Linked DNA regions of Homo sapiens: region 1 is linked to region 2. Evidence: promoter capture Hi-C in 16 types of primary human blood cells and fetal thymus (Javierre and others, 2016). All regions are on one chromosome and are shown on one strand. Each heading gives the region's core, a stretch centred on a gene start or on the middle of the fragment in contact. The rest is flanking DNA. Distances are from core to core; before and after follow the strand shown. Region 1 overlaps DNAH9 (dynein axonemal heavy chain 9). Region 2 holds the start of MYH3 (myosin heavy chain 3).

Region 1 (5,558 bases), core at 2,546-5,045, 1.3 Mb after region 2:
CTATCAAGCCATGAAAAGAAACAGAGGGAACTTAAACACATACTACTAAGTGAAAGATGTCAATATGAAAAGGCTACATACTGTATTATTCTAACTATGTGACATTCTGAAAAATGGAAAACAATGGAGGCAGTAAAAACACTGGTTGCCCAGAGTTAAGAGTGAGGATGGCATGAGTAGGTCAAGCACAGAAAAATTTTAGGACACTGAAACAATAATGATGAATATGATACTATAATGGTGGATACTTGTCATATACTATAATGATACAACATGATACTGTATTTGTACAATACTGTAACGGTGGATACATACAATTATACTGCAATGACATATACTAAAATGGTGGATACGTGGCATTAAACTGTAATGATACAATATGATACTGTAATGGTAGATACATGTCATTATAAATTTGTCCAAACACATAGAATGTACAACGCAAAGGGCAAACCCTACGGTAAACTACGGACTCTGAGTGATAATGAGGTGAATGCAGGTGCATCACTTGTAACAAAGGTACCGCTCTGGTGGGGAATGTTGATAGTGGTGGAGGTTGTGCATGTGTCGAGGCAGAAGATATAAGGGTAATCTCTGTACTTGCTGCTCAATTTGCTGTGAAACTAAAACTGCCCTAAAAAAAAAAAAATAAAGTATATTAAGAAAAGGCATAGAGAAAACTTCTCAACAAATTTTATGAAAACAGAATTAACGTGACACCAAATACGTTATGAGCAAATGACAGATCAGCTTTCCTCATAAACACAAATGCAAAATTCCTTAGCAAAATGTTAACAAATCAAATCACACAATATAAGAATAAGATAATATATCATGGCTAAATGCGGTAATCCTAGGAATACAAGATTAGTTTTAAGATTCAAAAATCAGTCAGTGAAGTTTACCATATTAATGTGCTACATTTAAAAATCATATGATCATCTTCATAAATGCAGAGAAGGCGTTTGACAAAATTGAACACCAAATCTTCATTTTAAAATATCAAAAAAAAAACAGAAATCAAAGGAAATGTCAACTTAAAGGATATCCAAAGAAAACATATTTAATTGTGAGGGACTGCCTGCTTTCTCTCTAAGTTTGGGAACAAGGCAAGGTTTTCCATCCTCATCACTTTTGTTCATCATTGCCATGAATGTCCTTCATAACGTGGTAAGGGAAGACATGGCTACACAGATGGGGTCTCATAAAACAAAGTGAATGATCTTCTTTGATCATTTATTTTGTCCTTTGCACTAAATTTCATCTTTATACTTAATGTTATTTTATTAAATAATCAGCTATTTAAAGGGAAACAATTATTACATAAGCTATACATTGCATGTAGCAATGAATTATCACATAACTACAGATATGAGGAAGACCGTATTGTCTCAGAAGCTTGATTTGGGCTCAGAGATATAAGCAGCATATTAAACCCATTTCTCAGAAGCCTGTGTACACTAAAGCAGAGATTCCAAACAAAGGAAACAGTTTTTTTCTATTTTAACCTAATAATGATATTCATTTCAGCAGATCCTTAGGGAAATCTACCAGAAAAAACTTGCTCATCAAATTCGGGTTTGGTTGAAAGTGATAAATGTTGGTGGCACATACAGGGCTCTTTTACATCCCATGGAGCCTTGATGTGGCCTCAGATTCATCACAACACCCTGCTCTGGTCATTCACCTCAAAACATCTGGATAAATACGTGGAATGAAATCTATTTTCTATCCCTGTAATAAAGTCCTGTTACTTGGGGGAAAATGTTTGTAATTCACACTGTACTCATTCAGGCTGGTCCATCTGTTGCTGGTCTGATTAGGGATATTGGTCTTTTCTTTAAAACATTGAGGTTTTTATGTCTTAAAATAGTCCGGCCACCAGACACTACAGTCTAGAAAGTGAATTCGTAATAATTATACTTCATGTAGGAAGTTCATAAAGAAGTTACCAGTTTATTTCTTATAAATCAGGAGCCTCTGGCTGTCACTCAGGAGACTGAAATATGTTCATCTTAAGGTAGGTATGCTTAACTGTTTTTAAGAATTCCAAAAGTGGGCCAGGTGCAGTGGCTCACGCCTGTAATCCCAGCATTTTGGGAGGCCAAGGCGGGTGGATCACCTGAGGTCAGGAATTTGAGACCAGCATGGCCAACATGGTGAAACCCCGTCTCTACTAAAAATACAAAAATTAGTCGGGTGTGGTGGTGGGCGCCTGTAATCCCAGCTACTTGGGAGGCTGAGGCAGGAGAATTCCTTGAGCTCGGGAGGCAGAGGTTGCCGTGAGCTGAGATCGTGCTACTGCACTCCAGCCTGGGTGACAGAGCAAGACTCTGTCTTAAAAAAAAAAAAAAAAAAAAAAAAAAATCCAAAAGTGGCTGGGTGCGGAGGCTCATGCCTGTAATCCCATCAATTCTGGAGATTGAGGTGGGCAGATCACCTGAGGTCAGGGTCAGGAGTTCGAGACCAGCCTGGCCAACATGGTGAAACCCCATCTCTACTAAAAATACAAAATTAGCTGGGCATAGTGACAGATGCCTGTAATCCCAGCTACTCAGGAAGCTGAGGCAGAAGAATCGCTTGAACCCGGGAGGCGGAGGTTGCAGTGAGCAGAGATTGCGCCCCTGCACTCCCGCCTGGGTGACAGAGCAAGACACCGTCTCCAGAAAAAAAAAGAATTCCAAAAGTTAAGAGAAAAAGTTAGATCTAGAATTCCATGTGCCAGTCTCCTGTCCCACAGGCCAGGAGACTCCAGGCCCTACGGAGGTGAGAACATCTTACATTTTAGCAGTCTGCCCTTGATGAGACAGCCAAACGCTGTCAGGTGCCCTAACACCTATTACAGAAACCACAACAATAGAAATGGGGTCTTCAAGAAATTGCCACAGATCATTGGCAGAGCCAAAGTTACAAAGTTTGCTTTAAACATAGTGTTCAGGCCGGGCGCGGTGGCTCATGCCTGTAATCCCAGCACTTTGGGAGGCTGAGGTGGGCTGATCACTTGAGGTCAGGAGTTCAAGACCAGCCAGACCAACATGGTGAAACCCTGTCTCTACTGAAAATACAAAAATTAGCCGGGTGTGGTGGCAGGTGCCTGTAATCCCAGCTACTCAAGAGACTGAGGCAGAAGAATCACTTGAACCTGGGAGGCGGAGGTTGCAGTGAGCAGAGATTGCACCACTGCACTCCAGCCTGGGCAATAGAGTGAGACTCCGTCTCCAAAAATAAAAAAAAATAAAGATGGTGTTCAGTGTAAACCTTTCTTTACAAATCCTATCTAGCTGTTGAAAGAGTGTCCCTTAAAGTTGATTACATATCCAATAGCTCGATTTCTGAAAGAAATCCCTGATTTGGGGGAATATAGATCTTTGTAGGCGCTGGCTTCTTGGGTTTCTAAGCTGCATGCAGGAGAGTCATGGAATTTAAGCTTTAGGCTAAGGTCATGTGGCACTGAACCCACAAGTGGTTTAAGGTCTGCAATGGGAAGCAATTGTGTCTTTTGAAACACTGTGAGTAGAACAGTTGAGACTCTGACATCAGAGCAGGGAGGGTTTTCAAGGACCAGCTTCTGTGAGACAAACCTTCCAAAGCAAGTACTAGACAGGACAGTCATTGTGTCACCTACCCCTGGAGTTTTATGTTCAAATGACATGAACAAGGATGGATAACTCTTGTCTGCCTGGGTGCCATGAGCCAGGGGTCTCTGAGGCCAGGTGTTTTCAGGGACTTCCCACCTTCTCACGCTTTCCCCCTCCCATTCTTTATCTTCAGGGGGAGCTGACTATGACCAGCCACATGGAGAACTTACAGAATGCCCTGTACTTCGATATGGTGCCAGAGTCCTGGGCTAGACGAGCCTACCCTTCCACAGCAGGCCTGGCAGCCTGGTTTCCAGACCTCCTCAACAGAATCAAGGAGCTAGAGGCTTGGACGGGTGACTTTACAATGCCCTCCACTGTGTGGCTGACAGGCTTCTTCAACCCCCAGTCGTTCCTGACTGCCATCATGCAGTCCACGGCTCGCAAGAATGAGTGGCCACTGGACCAGATGGCCCTGCAATGTGACATGACGAAGAAGAACAGAGAAGAGTTTAGGAGTCCTCCTCGGGAAGGGGCCTACATCCATGGCCTCTTCATGGAAGGTGCCTGCTGGGACACACAGGTAAAGCTTGGAATGAACCAAAGGGCAGCTTTCTGGGGGCTGATTAAATACACATTGCTTCCTATGAAGTGTGACTACTAAAAGAGATATTCCTGAATCTTTTTCTCTAGCTAACCTTCTTTCCTTGAGGCCATCAGGCCATTTTTATTTAGCCAGGGGTGGTGCAAAGAGCGTAAGTTTTGCAGAGGCAGTAGAGTGGAGAGGTTAATAGCAAGGGCTTTGGAACCAGACTGGCTGGGTCTGAATCCCAGCACCACCATTTATTAACTCTGTAACTTTAGATATAGTTTCACCTTTCCAGACCTCACCTGTTAGATGGGAGAAGAGCGTCATTGTAAAAGTTAAACGAGCTAATATGTAAGACACTTGAACAGTGCCTGGCACATAGGCAGTTATCAAAAAATGTTGGAGTCAGCTATCTCTGCTGCTGCTGCTGTGTGTCTGTCGCCCAGGCTGGAGTACAGTGGCACGATCTTAGCTCACTGCAACCTCCGCCTCCCGAGTTCAAGCAATTCTCCTGCCTCACCTCCTTGGTCCACTTTCCACATTCATGAGCTCTCAAAGGGCAGGAATCTTCTGCCTTTTATGTTGTCCTATGTTGGCAAAGAGGAGCCAGTAGATATCACTTAAAGTGGCATTTTGAAAGGATTCCTTATCAAAGGCTAATAAAAACGTGAGTCACATGAGATTGGAGAAGATGTTTTGTCACCAATAAGAATATGCAAATAGAGATTTACTTGGTTAAGTAGTGCCCCCAAAAATTCATGTCTAGGCATAACCCCAGAATGATTATTTAGAAATAAGGTCTTTGCAGATGTAATTAGTTATGATGAGGTCATACTGGATTATCATGAACCCTAAATCCAATGACCAGTGCCCTTATAAGAAGACACACAGGTCGGGCACAGTGGCTCACACCTGTAATCCCAGCACTTTGGGAGGCCGAGGCGGGCAGATCACCTGAGGTCAGGAGTTTGAGACCAGCCTGACCAACATGGAGAAACCCCATCTCTACTAAAAATACAAAATTAGCCGGGCATGGTGGTGCATGCCTGTTATCCCAGCTACTCGGAATGCTGAAGCAGGAGAATCGCTTGAACCCGGGAGGTGGAGGTTGCAGTGAGCCGAGATCGCACCATTGCATTCCAGCCTGGGCAACAAGAGCAAAACTCCGTCTCAAAAAAAAAAAAAGAAGACAACGACCACATAGATGGGCACAGATATGGGAACAATAGACACTGGATTATTAGAGGGTGTAGGGAGAGGTGGGGGTTAATAAAAACTAACTATCCGGTACTATGCTCACTAACTAGATGAAGGGATCCATACTCCAAACCTCAGCATCATACAATATTCCCATGTAACAAATCTGCATATGTATCCCCTGTATCTAAGAG
Region 2 (5,331 bases), core at 198-2,697:
GGCTGGTCTTGAACTCCTGACCTCATGATCTGCCCACCTCGGCCTCTCAAAGTGCTGGGATTACAGGTGTGAGCCATTGCACCCGGCCACGACCTGTCCTTGTCTAAATGTGCTAGTTCCCCTGTCCCTCTGTGCCCTTATGGCCGGTGGGAGGAGGGAGAAAGGAACTGGCAAGCTTGGATTGCCTGGAGATCTCCAACAGCCGAGGGACAGGGCCCAACTTCTCACCTGAGAGTCCCACCTGCAGGATGAGAGCAGAAGACAGCAACAGCCAGGAGATCCCAGACCTGGAAGAATATGCACATACACAACTTAGCGGCACTTGGGGTGGCTGCGTCCATGTAGAATCGGCTTCTGACGAGTTAACTAAAAAGGATAAAGGGGCCAGGCGCCATGGCTCACGCCTGTAATCCCAGCACTTTGGGAAGCCGAGGCGGAAAGATGGCCTGAGGTCAGGAGTTTGAGACCAGTCTGGCCAACATAGTGAAACCCCTTCTCTACTAAAAATAAAAAATAAATTTAAAAAATTGCTGGGCGTGGCGGCAGATGCCTGTGATCCCAGCTACTCTGGAGGCTTAGGCAGGAGAATCATTTGAACCTGGGAGACAGAGGTTGCAGTGAGCCGAGATTGTGCCATTGCACTCCAGCCTGGGCGACAAGAGCAAAATTCTGTCTCAAAAAAAAAAAAAAAAAAAAAAAAGACTAATACTTTAAAGAGGCAGGCTGGAAGATGGAAGAGCAGATGGGACGTGACCCACAGGAAGCCAGGCAGGGAGGAAAAACCCTCAGCTGTGCAGAAATCTGGTTTCTCTCAGCCTGCACTGGCACCTTCTTCAGTCTTCCTCACTCCCATTTAGAATCGGACAGCAGGGACCGCATCCCTGCTTAAAGTCAACAGTTCGAGGGCAGGGGCAGGTCTCCTTGTCTGTGAACAGGCAATATCTCTGAGATTAATTTACACGCAATGCCCACAGCCAGTGTGGTCTTGAGAGGACAAGACACCTGGCAGATGTACAGCCCAGGTGGGGAAGGTGAGGGCAGAGTGAGGTCCCCAGTCCTGTTGACCCTTCATGGGTCACAGAGGCAATGGGAGAAGGTCAAGCCATGGCAGCTGGGCTCACGGGGCATCCAAAAGGATCCTGCCCAAGAGGACACTTGGAGAGGAGGACAGGGGAGAGTGTGTGGAGGAGAGAGAACCTGCAGGGCTCCTGCTTGGGGGAGGTGCTGGAGCCAGAGGGTGCTGGGTGTTTGGGCCCAGGGAACCTCGCTCTCTACACCTTGCTTATCCTAAGAAAACTCAGAAAGGCATGAGGCGCCACCTCAGCAGAGCCAGGCAGGGCCAGGGAACCACGCACGGGGTGTGGATGTGCTCACCGGGTGGGTGTGCTCCAAGCAGCTGAGACCTAGAAGAGGAGCCTGTGACTTACCTCCGCCCACAAGCGAGCCACAGAGGGCTGGCTGCTCCCCGGGGCTTTTATAGGCCATTGGTAACCCCCGCGGCTCATTCCTTCTCTATATTTGGCAAGAGGATGAGTGGCCCCCCCAAGCCGAGAACCAGCTTCTTCCACACGTATCTTTGTCGTTGCCAAGGGAAAGGTATAATTAGAAATGAGCAGGATCCATCACCATTTTCCGACCGCAGAATGTCAGGAGCTTGGGATGCCTTTCTCTGAACTTGGGGCCGGTGCTCCCTCCCCTGATGGGATGGGATGGCCTCACTCCAGGAGGAGTTGCGGGGGCAGCCACCTCCGTTCTCAGGCGCTCATCACACCCTGAACGCGGCGTGAGCCCCTAGCTATTGGGCACCAAGGACTGAAGTCGGGTGGCTTACTTAGAAATCTCATCATATGGAAAAGTGAATAAGACTGAGAGTGAAAAGTTGAAATCCTTTTTGAATTTTGAGCAAGATTTTATCACAACCTTGGGTTGTGATTGCAAAACCTGTGCCAGGAATAATTAATAATAATAATAATTAATAGCAATAATTCCCCTCCCCCCTTGCCCTCTTCTCCCTTCTCCTCCTTCTACTCCTCTCCTTCTTTCTCTTATTTTCTCCTATGCAACGTTCTGTCTCATTAGTATCATTATTAACTTAATTCTTTCTTAAGCTCTAATAGGACCAGCCAGTTAAGTTAGTGACGTGGATCTATGCTGCCAGCTCGTATTCCCGGCGACAGCTGCCTGAGGACCTGTGGCTATTAAGACAGATTACCAATTAGGAAAGACCAGCTGCTGGCTGGGATGGGGTAGGGGGAACGGTGGTGGCCTGCAGAGAAAGGGCGGACAAGGGGGGGCTGTCTAACAAATGTGGTCATCTCTAAATCAGGAGTGGAAAAATAAAGCCTCAAGAGAAGAGTAAAGTATGTCGGACGCTTTTGCCCATTCTCGTTCTACTTTTTTTTTCTTGACAAATCTTTGGGAGGATGGCTGGGTGGGCACCCTGTGGTTGCTTATTCCAAATAGAACTGTTTGTCCATGTTTCCCATAGAAACCGCCCCTTCCGTACACAGCAGTACCAAGCCCCGAAGTGGAGGCCACTCCATGAGGTCTGCGTGGGACCGGGGAGGCAGGGCTGCGGTCTCAGGGCAAAGGCACGTGTATGAAACATCCTCTGTGCTCTGGCCCTTACACACAGTGCTTCGAGAAGACGCAGAGGAAACAGAAGACGCAGCCTTTACCCTTAAGGGTTTGAATTCTAGATGATGAGTCCTGTGGATGCTACAGACGCATTTACAAAATTGAGGTGATTTCACATTGAAGCAACAAGTTTATGAAGCGCCTGTTCCGTGAATGCCAGGCAAGGCCAGTGGCCGCCAATGGAGTCAGTTGGGCAGGGCTCACTCACCCCTTGCCTGTCCACCAGCCACTGAGCGTTGCCCCCACCCACTGCCCCTCTCCCTCCAGGTGAGACTGACATGTCCATCCTTGGAGCCCCTCCTCATCCAAGGAGAGGGTAACCGTCACTCCTAAAGTGTCCGTCCATGTCGTAAAGGGAGTGGTCCCCTGGGGCTCTGCCCTGTTGGCCCAGTGATGCACTGTCTCCTTGGGAGTATTGGTCAGGACAGCCACGGACAGGTAAATATCACCGAGGGGAGCAGCGGTGTTAACAAGGTCCGTGGGGTCAGGGGACAGGGCAAGCTGTCCTGGCTACATCTCCAGCAGTGGTGTATGCAGGGCAGGCTGTGGGTGTGGCGGGGGTGGACGTGGGAACTTGCAGTTCCTACGTCAACACCCAGACCTGTTGACAGGAGGAACTGTGTGGAAATGAAATAGGGGGCAATTTTGCTTTTTCCCTTTTGCAGTGACCAATGTACTCATCTATCTATATAACTACATCCATACTCACCTCCAGGAGACAGAAAAGAAATATTCCCTTCAACATTTCTTTTAGTTCCCTTAAGAGAGCACCCATATCACGTTAGGACCTAATACAAGCTCTAAAATGCTGATGGCTTCTCGCCTGGCTTTCCACACTGTCCTTGTTTCCTTCCTTCTCTTCATCAGAATTCTTCATCTTCAGCAAACAAATATAAGTGAATCTAGGAGAAAACGTCACAGACTCCTAGAGTGTTCAGCTGTGAGATCTTGGCAGTTTCTTTTAGTCTGGATCATTCCTCCTATCTTACGTATTTATTTTTCAGTAATATAGACATCACTGGACACTTTTTATGTGTCAGGCACAGAACCCAGAACTTCCAGAGTGCTCCACATGGAGATGGCCTGGTCCCTGCCTTCAAAGAGGCATTCGTCTGTAGGGCTGAGAAGAGGAAGACACGTTCCCCCAGATGAACTGTGTGGTACAAGATCAAAGGTGTTGAGTGGACCAGAAAGGCACCCATGCTGATCGCGTTCAAATGAGGGAGAAAGAACACCCTGCTGAACCATCTCTTTGGCTGAACTGTCTCCTTTTCAGATGAGGAAACCGAAGGCAGGAGCCACAGGAAGCTTGCTGGAAGCGGTGAGAAGAGGGCCAGCGTCAGGGATAGAGGTCAGCTCTCCAGGAGAAATCCCGCAGTGGCTGGAAGGGACAGCACCCACGGCAGTCTGGAGAGCAGTTGAAAAGCTGGATATCAGGAATCACAAAGTCTGGTCATTTGGAAACGTATCTTTAGGAGAGGTGAGAACTGCATGTACTTCCACAGCAGCAGGTCGGAGCAGGAGGAGCATGGAGCTGAGAGTCCTACAGGCCTGGATGTGGATCCCGGCTTGCCCGCTTGCACACCACGTGATGGCAGGCAGTGTGCTTCTTTGAGCCTTCGTCTTCTCCTCTGTAAAACGGGGGTGACATACCTGCCTCCCAGACTAGTTATGTGCATTCAGCGGGATATCCCAACATCGCACACACCATGCCTCGTGCTGTGTTTGGTACATTGCAGGTGTTTGCCAGGTGTAAGTTTTCTTCTCTACCTGCAGATTATGGCACAGTGTGACTGGTTTTCTTAATGAGAACCCTGAGTAAATTACACTGAATATATGTCTTATTGAGATGGGGAGGGAGAAAGAGACATATGTAATATTAAAAAATAGTTTCTGGCCGGGCGCGGTGGCTCACGCCTGTAATCCCAGCACTTTGGGAGGCCGAGGCGGGCGGATCATGAGGTCAGGAGATCGATACCATCCTGGCTAACACAGTGAAACCCCGTCTCTACTAAAAATACAAAAAAAATTAGCCTGGCATGGTGGCAGGTCCCTGTATTCCCAGCTACTTGGGAGGCTGAGGCAAGAGAATGGTGTGAACCTGGGAGGCGGCGCTTGCAGTGAGCCGAGATCATGCCACTGCACTCCAGGCTGGGCGACAGAGTGAGACTCTGACTCGGAAAAAAAAAAAATTCTATCCAGCCGGGCATGGTGGCTCATGCCTATAATCCCAGCACTTTGGGAGGCCAAGGCGGGTGGATCACTTGAGGTCAGGAGTTTGAGACCAGCCTAGCTAACATGGTAAAACCCTGTCTCTACTAAAAAAAAATACAAAAATTACCTGAGTGTGGTGGTGGGTGCCTGTAATCCCAGCTATTCGAGAGGCTGAGGCAGGAGAATTGCTTGAACCCAGGAGGCAGACATTGCAGTAAGCCGATATTGTGCCACTGCACTCCAGCCTGGGCAACAGAGTGAGACTCCTTATTTTTTTTTTTGAGACAGAGTTTCACTCTTGTTGCCCAGGCTGGAGTGCGATGGCGCTATCTTAGCTCACCGCAACCTCCACCTCCCAGGTTCAAGCAATTCTCCTGCCTTAGCCTCCCGAGTAGCTGGGACTACAGGCATATGCCACCATGCCTGGCTAATTTTTGTATTTTTAGTAAAGATGGGTTTTTACCATGTTAGTCAGGCTGG

Evidence for each region. Contacts are between HindIII fragments. The CHiCAGO score rates a contact against its expected background, and 5 or more counts as called.
Region 1: a contact is called between a fragment that was not itself captured here and the fragment with the promoter of MYH3 in region 2, in 1 of 17 cell types (endothelial precursors). The highest score is 5.6, in endothelial precursors.

Annotation. Positions count from the first base shown.
Region 1 is chr17:11,958,096-11,963,653 of GRCh38, forward strand. DNAH9 (dynein axonemal heavy chain 9) reads left to right here. Exons shown (of 69, transcript NM_001372.4): 68 at 3,772-4,161. LOC124903928 (a long non-coding RNA gene) reads right to left here and starts at 2,119. Exons shown (of 2, transcript XR_007065622.1): 1 at 2,036-2,119; 2 at 1-634. The HindIII fragment of the contact is 740 bases long and covers 3,426-4,165 here.
Region 2 is chr17:10,655,862-10,661,192 of GRCh38, forward strand. MYH3 (myosin heavy chain 3) reads right to left here and starts at 1,448. Exons shown (of 41, transcript NM_002470.4): 1 at 1,428-1,448; 2 at 229-287. The HindIII fragment of the contact is 3,770 bases long and covers 174-3,943 here.